5 separate regions of the Homo sapiens genome follow, and regions 2, 3, 4 and 5 are each linked to region 1. Evidence: promoter capture Hi-C in 16 types of primary human blood cells and fetal thymus (Javierre and others, 2016). All regions are on one chromosome and are shown on one strand. The core of a region is centred on a gene start or on the middle of the fragment in contact, and the rest is flanking DNA. Distances in the headings are between cores, read along the strand shown.

The links. The method cuts DNA at HindIII sites, captures the fragments that hold promoters and counts their contacts. A CHiCAGO score of 5 or more calls a contact.
Region 2: a contact is called between a fragment that was not itself captured here and the fragment with the promoter of GALNT13-AS1 in region 1, in 5 of 17 cell types (M2 macrophages, M1 macrophages, M0 macrophages and 2 more). The highest score is 17.6, in M2 macrophages.
Region 3: a fragment that was not itself captured here is called in contact with the fragment with the promoter of GALNT13-AS1 in region 1 in 5 of 17 cell types (M2 macrophages, M0 macrophages, M1 macrophages and 2 more); the score reaches 25.1 in M2 macrophages.
Region 4: a fragment that was not itself captured here is called in contact with the fragment with the promoter of GALNT13-AS1 in region 1 in 1 of 17 cell types (M2 macrophages); the score reaches 5.3 in M2 macrophages.
Region 5: a contact is called between a fragment that was not itself captured here and the fragment with the promoter of GALNT13-AS1 in region 1, in 4 of 17 cell types (M1 macrophages, M2 macrophages, M0 macrophages and 1 more). The highest score is 7.5, in M1 macrophages.

Annotation. Positions count from the first base shown.
Region 1 is chr2:154,456,143-154,458,842 of GRCh38, forward strand. GALNT13-AS1 (GALNT13 antisense RNA 1) reads right to left here and starts at 1,296. Exons shown (of 5, transcript NR_161181.1): 1 at 1,224-1,296; 2 at 655-762. It also overlaps a transcript of GALNT13 not described here. The HindIII fragment of the contact is 5,662 bases long and covers 1-1,990 here.
Region 2 is chr2:155,296,126-155,298,825 of GRCh38, forward strand. No RefSeq gene overlaps it. Among named protein-coding and RNA genes, the nearest start is that of KCNJ3, 600 kb to the left of the region's middle. The HindIII fragment of the contact is 2,088 bases long and covers 278-2,365 here.
Region 3 is chr2:155,317,500-155,320,199 of GRCh38, forward strand. No RefSeq gene overlaps it. Among named protein-coding and RNA genes, the nearest start is that of KCNJ3, 620 kb to the left of the region's middle. The HindIII fragment of the contact is 7,488 bases long and covers 1-2,700 here.
Region 4 is chr2:155,276,885-155,279,584 of GRCh38, forward strand. The region is part of intron 1 of LOC105373698 (a long non-coding RNA gene); the gene reads left to right. Among named protein-coding and RNA genes, the nearest start is that of KCNJ3, 580 kb to the left of the region's middle. The HindIII fragment of the contact is 5,541 bases long and covers 1-2,700 here.
Region 5 is chr2:155,187,611-155,190,310 of GRCh38, forward strand. No RefSeq gene overlaps it. Among named protein-coding and RNA genes, the nearest start is that of KCNJ3, 490 kb to the left of the region's middle. The HindIII fragment of the contact is 439 bases long and covers 1,068-1,506 here.

The DNA.
Region 1 (2,700 bases), core at 46-2,545:
TTTTTGTTTTTTTTTTTTTGTATTTCAGCTTTTTTTGTTTTGTTTTGTTTTGTTGTTGTTGTTGTTGTTGTTTTGGTCAGTGTAGCCACAGCTAGAAAGGAGTAATTTCAAAAATGTTTTAGATATATGCTTGGCACATGGTTCTTTAACATTTATAAAAGTAGATTGTGCATAATGACAGATTTTAAATACTGTAAGCATTATTAGATGATATAATTGTTCTTTTGCTGTAAATTTAAATATTCATACATTTTTGTAGAGTTAAAATATGCCAATTTAGTTTTCCTTTGGTATATATTGCCTTTTTGGAAAATAAATGGTTAACATTTCAAATAGATAAACAACGTCACTATTTTATGCTTAACCTCCATGTTTGTGGATTATTTAAATAAATGATTAAGTGCCTATGAATATCTCCTTGCACCAAGAAAATGTTGTGTTCCCAGTACAATTTTGTTATCAAAATATATAAAATAGAAACACTAAAATATGCATGATTTTAAAGCATTTATTTTTATTTATTTTTGATTCTGAAATGATTTGAGGTGGATTTTTTTTCTTTCTGTTTTATAAAAATGACTAAAAATAGAAAAATTTAAAAGTCTCACATCAATGATAAAAATTATTTTTCAGAATATAGACCATACCCAATACCTGGCTTCTGAGACTGGAATCCTAAGACAGTGTGTCAGGGTGAGAGAAGATGGAGAGAAGCTGCCCACTCCACAGCACAGCGCAGGATCAACTCTTCAGTCTTAACCACTAAGATAATCAAAAAGAGCATTTAATTTTCTAAGGTGGAGAAAGGAAGGAAGGGGAGGAAGAGGGAAGCAAGAATAAAGAAGAAGGAAAGGAAAGGAAAGGGAAGGGGAGGGGAGGGAAGGGAAGAGAGAAAGACGATGCTAATAATCTGTTTTCATAATTTTATTCTGAAGAGACTCATCTGAAAGTTCCTGTTCAGAAGTCCATTGATTTGCAAACATGAACACCTCGCTAGTTTTCCGCAACTTATAACTGTCAGCAAGTGTAAAGGACATTTCTAGATTTTGTCCCTTCTTGGCTTTCTGTAAACCAAGTGTGACTCCAGATACCCAACTCTGTTACTCTCTTTTCGGTTACTCTTGTCCACGCACAGCATACATTTCCAGCAGTAACCAGGTACTCAAGTATAACCTAATAAAGCAACCCCACCCACTTCAGGCTTTGATAGATCCATAACTTACCCTGTCTTGCTTTTCTTCAGCACCTGGTAGAAACAGAATGTGAGCTCTCATGCTCAGAACTGTGCTTTCGTCTTCCTCCTCAGCCAAGGAGACTCTTAGGTAGGCTTTCTGTTGACTCACTCATTTTCTGACATCATGAATTTTTTCCCCCGCAGGACAGAGGATATTAATCACCAATCTCTGCTTCCACTGTGGGAAAGAGGTGGTAGGTAGCCCACTGAAATTCTTTTGACAGAAGTCTCTTCACCAATTTTTTGAAGTGAAAAACTAGGTAAACATGCAAACATCTAAAACAGATTTTACAGTTTTCTCTGCAACACAAAACACCTGAACTTACTGCAGCAAGCACTCTATCTCCTACATGATAATATATATAAGGTGGAGGCTGTGAAATCAACATTGTCTAAACAATTGAGGTCAGAATTTAAAACACCCTTCCTTAAGACTAATGGGACCTGTGTTCTCAGCCCTGAGCCTGCAGCTTGCTTTCCCTATGTACCTGTGAAACGTTTTGGCTTTTAAACAACGACATGAAGTTAAGTTGCATATATAAAAGCACTTCAAATTTCTTCCTTTATTTATATGGACCAAAGGGGTGGAGAATCCATTTTTTCCCACATAGTTAGCTTTTTAAAACTCTAGTTTCCATTAGTGGATTTAGAATCATTTGCCTCAGCAGCTCACCAACTCCTCCTTTGGATATTCTTTCTTCATTTTTTGGTTTTCCTTCCACCTCATTGGCCATTGATTTCCAGTTTCCTTTGCTAAGCTTTCCCTTCTTTCTCCCATGTCTTAATATTGGAGTGCCTCGAGGTGCAGTCCTTGGCCTTCTCAATTTGCATTGACTCTTTGGTGATCTCATCCAGAAGCACATATTTCAATGTCTCCGATGCTGATGACTCCCAAATATCTCTATCCAGTTCAAAAACTGCCTACTTGACATCTACACTTGGATAACTAATAGACACCTGAAACTTGGTTTGTCCAAAACTTAACTTTTTGCCTTCTCCTACAAATCTGTTCAACCCAGAGATTTCCATCTCAGTTGATGGCAACTCCATTTTGCCAGCTGCTCAGGCCTAAAATCTTGGTATCCTTGAAATCTCTCTCTCCATTAGAAAATCTCCTTAATTCCACCTTCACAGTGTTTGCTGAATCTGACCACTTCTTAACACCTCAACTACTCCCATTCTGGTCTGTACCACCAACTAAATGATAGCCGGAGTCTCCTGACTGGTTTCCAAGTTGCTTCCACCCTTGCCTCCTCCATAGTCTGTTCTCAGAGAGAGCCTTAAATTTATATAAAAAAATTGTTTAAAAGAGAACCAGAATAATGATATAAAATGTAACTCAGATATGTCTCTCTTCTGCTCAAAACTATCCAGTGGCTTCCTGTTTTGCATAAAGTAAAAGGCTATGTCCTTATAAAAGCCAACAACACTGCATGCTGATCTGGCCCCTGTTAACTCTCTGACCT
Region 2 (2,700 bases), core at 72-2,571, 840 kb after region 1:
TAGGTATTATACAGAGGACTATTATGTAGAATATGTATACAATTTTTTAAACCAACAATAGAAAAGTAAGCAATCCACTTAGAACATTGGAAGGACAGGAAGGAAGTGGGTATAGCTATCTTTACTATATCAATGTCAATATCCTAGCTGTGATATTTTATTGTACTTTTGTGAGATACTACCCTTGGGGGAACTGGGATAAAAGTACACGGAATCTCTGTTTCCTTTCTTACAACCGCCTGTGAATCTACAATAATCTAAAAAATAACAAATTTTAAGCTTGGTGCACTTGGTGCATGACTATAGTCCCAGCTACTCAGGAGGCTGAGGTGAAAATTTGAGGCTTATACCCGGGAATTTGAGGCCAGTCTGGGCAATACAGGAAGAACTTGTCTCTCAAAATAAGAAAAATTTAATTAAGGAAGAAGAGCATGTGCTTTCAGAAGGTAATCGAATTAGTCCTAACAATTAAAATGTATACATTCTGATATTAGAACACCTTCTTGTTGAAAGAATAGTTTTATCTTTTTATGCCTCTGACACATTAAAATGTAACTCAATCGGGAAGATGATAAAATCACATTAATTTTATTACAGTTATTCATCATCATTCATCGTCACTATTCCCTTCCTTATTCACTTATAATTAATAAGCCATTTAACTTAACTGCTGAAAGTGACTTCAGTCAGAAATACAGTCTAATCCCTCATTTCAAATGGGGTATCTAAAGCAGAGCATCTCAAACTTTAGGGGCATGAGAATCATCTGGACAGTGTGTGTTAACTTACAGGTTGCTAGGTCTCACCCACAGAATATATAGTTCAGCAGTTCTGGGCATCCCTTGAGAATCTGCACTTCTATTAAGTTTCCAGGTGTTGCTGGTGCTGCTGATGCAGGTGATGAAGGCATTGGTCCACAGACCTCATTTTGAGTGGTACTCTTTCTGAGACCAGAGGACTTAAGTATTTGTCTAAAGGCTGCACAATTCACAATAGCTAAGCACTAGTACATTCTTTACCACTACTTTATTTTGAAATTTTGCTTATTTTATTATTTAAAAAAAATTATAAGGAAAATCCTTTTTTATCTCCACTGATTGGAATAATACGTCATAAACTAGAATTCCCACTTCTACAGCACATGTATATCTCACTAAGTGTTGGCCAAATTTTATAAAAAATCACAAAGGTTGAAGTCACCGTTTGAACTGTAGTTTAAAAAGATAGAAGTACTTGAGGTTTTGTGTAAGATGTATAAACTTGTCATAAAATGGCTTTCAAGCACAGCATGTTTAGCCCCACACAGCAGCATTGTCTTGCACACAGTCATCCTTAAACTATAAGGTAGCATCCATCATAAATCTTATTTTAGAACTATGAAAATAAAAAAGCAGCACTATTTCTCTCAGCATTGCATAGAAGTAGATTCAAAATTCCAAATATATATTATAATATTGCCATCTAATGGATAATCCACAAAGAAAATATAAAGTTCATAATTAAATGTGCTGCTGCTGTTGAAATTCTGCTATAATCCAGCATAAAACCTTAGATTACAAGATCAAAGATTGCTAAAAAAAAAAAGCATACTAATTTTTCTCTGATATGGAAAATAGTGACGTAAGTCACGAACCAATGCATGTGACAAAACATTTTCTTCTTTTTTCAATAAACATAATATTTCCTATTTTCCAGGAAACAAACGGGAATAAAATTTTCATTTTTTATTATTTCTAAAACTAAAAGGTCATTCTCCTTCAAAATATTTAATCACTAATTGTATTTTTTAATAAGATAGTTTGTAGAATTTTTTTATAAATTAGAGAAAACATCATAAATAAGGGAAGGAAATTTACAGTGACTGCCTTGGTCTTTGTAAAATAAGCAAGGGGTGGAGATCACAGTCAAGAGCACAGAACCAGCCGATAGTTATTATCTGACTTAAGCAAATAGACTACTGTTTTATCACTCACAAAATAAAGATTTGAGATCAAATAATCTTTAAGAACTTTCCTGATTTAACATTCATGATGAAATACTTTTATTTGAGTTTCAGTTCCCTTTCTTATGGAAGGTAAAAGTTGATTGCAGTTGAAAAATTACTTTCAAGCAAAGTTGAAGCCACAATCACATTTGCTTTCTCAGGGATTTCCTAACTGCTTTTCAAGGCTCTGGGGTTAAATATATATATTGTTTTCATTTTTCACACACCAGAGTTACATGTAATGTGAAAATGTGTTTTCCCACCCAGAGTCACCAAGGCCTTAGGAAATAAAGCCTTCCAAGTATGATTTCCTCTTAGTATAAATTTTCAGCAGCATATACCAAAGATAAAATCAGAGTGTCTAAAATTATATTACGTGTAAGCTTTCCTAGGGTTACTTACCTAGGGTTCCTCATATGTTTTAAAAGTTTTTGTTTTTTCTTTATCAAAAAACAAATGCAGAACAACAGAAGTAAGACAGAAGGAGAGGAAAAAAGGAGAAAGGGAGAAAGACTTCTTACAAAACCAAACTGCAAATGTAATGGAAATACTTTGGGACAATATTATTTGTGTGTGCTATATGTCAAATCATAAATGTTACAAAATTTGTGCCTAAATACATAAATATTTTCATAGTATATGTTCTTAGAAGTGAAATTGGTAATTTAGAGAATAGGCAATATTTACATTTTGATTGATACTGCCAAAATAATCTA
Region 3 (2,700 bases), core at 56-2,555, 860 kb after region 1:
TTCTACTAAATTCCTGCCATGTGAAACATGCAGAGTTAGGCAATAAAGGGATAAAGGAATCATTAATAAATTGTCCCAAGCCTTAAGCAGTTTAGAGTCCAACATGAAGTATAAGAAAGATATACAATTCCTTTTTTTTTTACTTTTATTTTAAGTTCAGAGGTACAAGTGCAGGTTTGTTACCTAGGTAAATTCATGTCTTTGCAATTGTGAATACTGCTGCAATTAACATTACTTTTATATAAATCAAATAGAAAGTGTGACAAGCATTTTATCAGGTAGGGAGAAATCATATTTTATTTAAGAGATCAAGGGATCTCTTAACTAATTAATTAAGATAAGTTTGAAAGGTATTAGTAGAGAGAAAGAGAAAAAAGCATCAATAAAATAATTAAATGAAAATACATTGTTCTATATTTTCACATAAAAAAGCACTTGAATTAATGGAAATATAAATGTAATAGTAGATAGCATTTGAAAGCTATATTATTGAGGACATCAAATACTCAGGCTAAATAACATTTATTATTTCAACAACCAATCGCATTGTTACACAGGTCCATGTCACAGTCTACATGTTAGAAAATAGTGGGTGGGAGAGGACAAGATGAAAAATACAAAGATAAATTAACCAAATGATCTTGTAAAAAGATACTTATAACATGGTGATAAATTCTGTGACAGAAATTATAAGGTCTAAGAGCATAAAGATGAAAAAAGTCTTGTCTTTAAGCTATGATTTGGGGCTTGAAGTATGTGTAAGGGAAGACTAGACAAAGCAAACGAATATTATAGGCTTAGGGGAGAGCATTCATTTATTCAGCTATATAATTAAAATTCATTGAATTTCTACTAACTTTTAGGTTTTAAGTACTTACAACTTTACATATAAATGGAAATACACAGTACCTAATCTTTTGCATCTGATTTCCATTACTTAATATCATGTTTGTGAGACTCATCTATGCTATGGCATAAAGACTCGTCTGTGCTATGCCACCTATGCTATGTGAGACTCATCTGTGCTATGCAGTTTATTTGCTTCCACTGATGGATAGTATTATTTTGCATGAATATACCACAATATATTTATCCACTCTTCTTTGGAGCTATGACTTATGCTGCAATAAACCTTCTTGTAATAATTTTTGTCAAGCATATTATCACGAGTTCCTGTTGGGTATAAGCATGGGAGTGTAATTTCTGGGTCAAAAGTTGTGAATGGTGCCAAGAGTAACTACCTTATAATATCAAACTATTTTTCAAACCCATATCAATTTATACTCCTACCAGCTCATATGAGAGTTGTCATTAATTTTTGTTCAATTAGACCTTGCTGATATTTAATTTGAGCTATCTTAACATGTCAATATTAGGATGTTGTCACATTTCATTAATTATTAATAACATGTATTAGCACTGTTTATATGATTATTAGCTATTTGGATTCCTTCTTTGGGAAAGTGGCTGTTCAAGTAATGCTATGTTCTCAGAAAGAGAAGCGTCTAGTGAAAAATCGATTTGAGGTTGTGAGGAAGATGATGAGCTTTATTTCAAACATCCCAATTTGAGCTACTAGTGAAACTTACAGGTGAAGATGTTTAGCAGAGTGTTGAAAAGTGATTTGGAGCTTGCAAGGAAAGATAGAAACGATTCCTAAATCTCCATCTTTGCAAAGACAGGAAGAAAAAAGGCAACAACACGAGTGGAGAGAAGTTAGAACAGAAATATTATTTTCGATAAAACAAGAACAAAGGAAGACGCCACAGGCAGATTTTGTGATAGAAAAGATATTGATGGAGTTAATGTCAAATGATCTCTGTCTTATCGGACAGGAAATTGATGTGGACTCAGCTAGTGCCAAACTATTTCCAGTGTTCTAAAATCCTGTGCAAATAAAATCCTTTCTCTGTTGCTTTATCTGTCAGAGGGAACTTAATTTCTTCCAGGTTTCTTTCTCTGAAATCTTGTAGTTCTGAGTCTCTTTTAGTTGCTATAAATCTAATCCCTCTTGAGACAGAGTCTCTCTACACAGCTGCTTATATTTGTCACTTCCTAGATGTCTGTCAAGGGCTCCATGACCTCCAAGGTCCCTGGAGTGCCAAACTTCTATAAACTATTAAATAATTTCCTCCAGTGAAATAATCCTTTCCAACAGGGATTTTATGGACTCATCCTGCCTTCCAATCATTTTTTCATAGATTCTATGTAGTAAAACTTTTGCAAAGTTTCTCATGCTTTAACCAATGTATCCTGCAAAAGACTTTTGGACAAATGAAGCATTACTCTCAAATTTATGAATCTCTCTTATTGTTATATCCTTAATCTGTTGCTCAATAATTGTAGGATAGTAGACTTGGAGCAGACATCTTCTAAGTGAAAAAATAAGTAACATGGAATGAAGGTTTCTTTAAATTCCAAACGACTTCTCCAATTTTGACTATACCAAAAATTTCTGTATCTCTGAAATATCTGGAGGAACTTCTCTTTCTTCTTTTTTTCCCTCCAAACAACATTATAATGTAAAATTTGGTTTAAAAATGAATAAAATAAAAAAGTGTATCAAATATAAAAACGTATGTAGCCTTATATAGTAAGACAAAAGGAGCACATAAAACAAAGTTTGCTTTGTTGCAAGGGTAAAGTTGTAAGTGAATGCTTATTTTGTATATTAGACACCATTTTAATGTATCAAAAATG
Region 4 (2,700 bases), core at 163-2,662, 820 kb after region 1:
TGATCATGATGAAAGATCTTTTTAATGTATAGTTAAATTTTGTTTGCTCATATTTTGTAGAAAATGTTTGCATCAATGTTCATCAGGTATATTTGGCCTACTTTTTTAAAGACTGTCTGATTTTGGTATCAGAGAAATACTGGCCTTGTAGAATGAGTTTGGAAGTATTCTCTGTTTCTCTATTTTTTTAATAGTTTAAGTATGATTGATATTAGTTATTTCTTAAATGTTTGGTAAAATTCAGCAGTGAAGCCTTTGTTTCATGGGCTTCTCTTTGCTAGGCGATTTTTTATATGGTGTCAATTGTTATTCCTTATTGCTCTGTGCAGGTCCGTATTTCTTCATGTTTCAATCTTGGTAGCTTGTATGTATCTAGGAATTTGTCCATTCCATGGTATTCCAATTTATTGGCATATAGTTGCTCAAAGTAGCCTCTAATGATCTATTAAATTTCTGTGGTATTGGATGTAATGTGTTCTTTCTCATCTCTATTTGAGGCTTCTCTGTTTTGTTTGTTTGTTTGAGACGGAATTTCACTCTTGTTGCCAAGGCTGGAGTGCAATGGCGCGATCTCAGCTCACTGCAACCTCCGCCTCCTGGGTTCAAGCGATTCTCCTGCCTCAGCCTCCTGAGTAGCTGGGATTACAGGCATGTGCCACCACGCCCAACTAATTTTGTATTTTTAGTAGAGACGGGGTTTCTCCATGTTGGTCAGGCTGGTCTCGAACTCCCAACCTCAGGTGATCTGCCTGCCTCAGCTTCCCAAAGTGCTGGGGTTACAGGCATGAGCCACCACGCCCAGCCTGTTTTTTTTTCTTAGTTTGGATAAAGGTTTGCCAATTTTGTTTATCTTTTCAAAAAAGCTGCTTTGGGTTATACTGATCTTTTGCATTGTTTTCTTTTTTTCAATTTCATTTATTTCTGCTATATTTTAATTATTTCCTTTCTTCTACTAATTTTGAACTTGGTTTGCTCTTGCTTTTCTAGCTATTTAAGATGCATCATTAGGTTGTTTATTTGAAGTTTTTCTACTTTTCTTATGTAAGCACATATAGCTACAAATTTCCATCTTACTATTGCTTTTGCTGTATCCTATAAGTTTTGGTATGCTGTGTTTCCATTTTTATTTGTTTCAATACATTTTTAAATTTTTTTCTTAATTGATTCATTCACCTGTTAGTCATTCAGGAGCTTATTGCTTAATTTCCATGTATTTGTATACTTTCCAAAATTCCTCTTGTCATTGATTTATAGTTTTATTCTATCATGGTCAGAGAACATGCTTAATATTATTTCAACTTCTTTGAATGTTTTAAGACTTGTTTTGTGACCTAATATATGGTCTATCCTTGAGAAATGATTCATGGGCTGAGAAAACATCATGCATATTCTGCATCTGTTGGATAAAATGTTTTGTAAATATCTATTATGTTCACTTAGTCTAGACTGCAGAATAAGCCTGAAGTCTCTTTGTTGATTTTTTTGTCTGAAAGATCTGTCCACTGCTGTAAGTGAGGTGTTACAGCCTCCAGCTATTATTTTATTGAAGTCTATCTCTCTATTTAGCTCTAGTAATATTTTCTTTATATATCTGGGTGCTCTAGTATTGTGTGCATATGTATTTAAAATTTTCATATCTTCTAGATCACTTGAGCCCTTTATCATTATATAATGACCTTCTCTGTCTCTTTTCATAGTTTTTGTCTTGAAATCTATTAGTGATACAAATATAGCTACACTTTTTCTTTTTTGGTTTCCATTGGCATGGAATACCTTTTTCATCACTTTATTATCAGTGTATGTGTGTCTTGTTCCTATTTGGTTTTTTTTTTTAATCCATTCAGCTACTCTGTCTTTTGAATGGGTAGTTTAGTCCATTTACAGTCAATATTATTATTGATAAGTAAGGACTTACTCCTGCCATTTTTGTTATTTGTATTCTGATTGTTTTCTGGTCTTGTCTTCCTTTTTTGTTTTTCTTTCTTCCTGTCTTCCTTTTAGTGAAGGTGATTTTCTCTGGTTATGTTATTTAGTTTCTTGCTTTTTATTTTTTGTGTATCCTCTGTATTTTTTTAATTTGAGATTACCATGATACTTGCAAATAATATTCATTATTTTAATCTGATGATGATTTTACACTAACTGCACACACAAACAAACAAGAGAAAATGAATAACAACTCTACACTTTGTCTATTCACTTTTTAAGATGTTGTCCTTTGTATTTATATCTCCTTGTACTGTTTATGTCTTGAGAAGTTGTAGTTTTTATTTTCAATTGGTTCATCTTTCAGTTTTTCTACCCAGGATGTGAGTAGTTTACACATCACAATTACAGTGTTATAATATTCTGTGATAATATTCTGTGATTTTTTGCTTACCTACTATTACCTGTAAGTTTTGGACCTTCAGATGATTTATTATTGCTTATTAACATTCTGTTGTTTCAGATGGAAAAACTCCTTTTAGCATTTCTAGTAGGTCTGATGTGGTGTTGATGAAGTCTCTCAGCTTTTGTTTGTCTGAGAAATTTTTTATTTTTCCTTCTTTTTTGAAGAATATTTTCATTGAATATGCTATTCTACGGTAAAATATTTTTTTCCTTCATCATTTTAAATATGTCATGCCACCCTCTCCTGGCCTGTAAGGTTTCTACTGAAGTCTGCTGCCAGATGTGTTGGAGTTCCTTTGCATGTTATTC
Region 5 (2,700 bases), core at 37-2,536, 730 kb after region 1:
TTGCAGTGAACCAAGACCACACCACTGCACTCCAGTCTGGGTGACGGTGTGAGACTCTGTCAAAAAAGAAAAAAAAAAGGCAGAGAACCTGAATAGACATTTTTCAAAAGGAGACATACAAAAGTCCAAGAAGTACGTGAAAAAAAGTGCAATATCACTAATCATTAGGGAAATCCAAAGTAATACCACAATGAGATATCCTCTGACACCTGTTTGAGTGGCTACTATTAAAAAGACAATAATTAAGTGTTGGTGAGGATGCGACGATAAGGGAACCCTTGTACATTGCTGGTGGGGAAATGTAAATTAGTACAGCCACTGTGGAAAACAGTACAGAGGGTTCTCAAAAAAAAATTATAAAATAGAACTATTACATGATTCAACAATCCCACTACTGGCTATATATCCAAAGGAAAGGATATTAAGTTAAACAGATGGCTGCACTCCCATGTTCATTGCAGTATGATTTATGATAGTCAAGGTATGAAAACAAACTAAGTGTCCATCAATGGATGAACAGATTAAAAAAAATGTGGTATATATACAGAATGGAGTACTATTTAGCCTAAGAAAAAGAAATCCTGTCATTTAACATACAACATGGACGAACCTGGAAGACAGTACGGTAAGCGAAATAAACCAGGCACAGAAAGACAAATACAGCATGATCTCACTTGCATGTGGCATCTAACTCATAGATAGTAAAATGGTGGTTACCAAAGGCTGGAGGGTAGGAGACTGGGGAGATATTTGTCAATCAAAACAAAATTTCAATTAGAGAGGAGGAATAAGCTTAAGATATCTGTTACACATCATGGTGACTACAGTTAATAACAATATGTCACATATTTAAAAATTGCTAATAAAGTAGATTCTTTATGTAAATATGTATTTTTCTCATTTATTCCTAATAAATGGACAATTTAGCTAAACCATCCCACTTGAAGAATACCTTCTCACTTCTTTCCATCCAAGTGATTTCAAGAATTAGAATGTAATGCTTAGAGGTTGTAAGCTCTACTCAGAGTAAAAATGCATTCTTATTTGGTTATGCAAAATTCACAGAAAGCTTCAAAGAACTATGGATTCGAATAACAACAGAACCTAGAAAAGGGAAACATAATAGAAATTGCCTGTTATGTAATGATAAGGTGATTCATTGAATTTAGATTTTTCTTGTGGCAAACACAGTCCTCCATCACTTCCTTTCCCTCGCTGTAAGCTGAAAACTGTGTTCTAACTTTTTAAGGAGTGAAAATATATTAAACATTCTATACTGCTGATTTCTATTTATGAAATCACACCCAAAATTAGCAATCAAGAAAGAACAGTAGACTATAAAGTTCATCTTTTTAAAAATACAAAAATATTATAATTTTAAACATCAAGCATATAGATTGTAAATTAATTAATAACTTTGTGTATATGAGGACAAATATATTTAAATCGTACACTAGAGAATGCTTTTTCCTGCGTAAAATACAAACTTTATTTGATATCAAATTAAGCTTCTCTGAATTTTCAAAATAAAATAACAAGGCTATTTCACATCAAATAAAAAGCAAGAATGATCACCCTCACATAAAAAAATACAGAAAAAATATAAGTTGAAGTAGAGGTTCAACAAAAATGACATAAAATCTGACATGAGTGGCCAACATTTTAAATTATCAATAGGAAACTCAATATGATAGATCTCTTAGTAAACTTCAGTTTGAAACAACAATAAGTACTGTTTACCAAAACATAAAACCAATTTTCAGAAAACTATCACTCAATTTGAAAAATGGAATATGGTACCCACGGCAAATAAGAAAAATACACACCATACACTGAATAGAGGGAACAAAAAAGGCAATCAACTTTCATATGAATCAAGAGAACACCAACTTATTAAAACTTCCCATAACAACTTTTGTAAAAACTAGAAACTATGATACATAAATTATAAAAAAAAGCATATCCTATATGATCATGTGTAGAAAACTGTAATTAAAGAGGTTGTTTTTATTAATTGCATAATCTAAAAATATGAGGAAATTTTGGACTATATCTCTAGAAAAGACCACAGAGGTATCATTGAGATACACATTTCTTGAGTTAATGGGCAAAGTTCCTGCTTTCATGAAATATCTGCCTCTTTTCACACAGTGAAACCAAGAAAAATTATATCAAATGAGAAATCTTTTTTCTCTAAATTACTCTTAAGTACTCCAATAATGCAATACTTGGAAAATATAATTTTTAAACACAGACTTGAAATAGATTATTTTTAAAAATACACAAATCTTGTGTCTTGGCACCAGATTTTTCAAAAACTAAATAGTTGTTTAAACCGCAAATAAAAGAAATACTACTATTCTACCTGAAGCTATACATTTAGAACTACGTGGCAATTTCTTGAAAAATAAAATGGAAAGGGTATTTTTACAGTCTCTGGCGTGCTTTCATGAATGTGTCTGGTGCAGAAAAGCATATCCAATGCTTTAGAAAAATAATATAAAAATAAGATTTATGCTCCAGGCAATTTAAGTAAAATCCAAATATTTATTTTTAGATGTGTCATGATATTTTTGATTATTAAGTAGTTGGATACTTGATACAGGTATTTCTGTCTATATCATTCTGTCTGTGAATGATTCTTTCTTTTTAGTGAAGAGTTAAACCCAAATTAAGCAACCATGATTTCTCTTGTATATT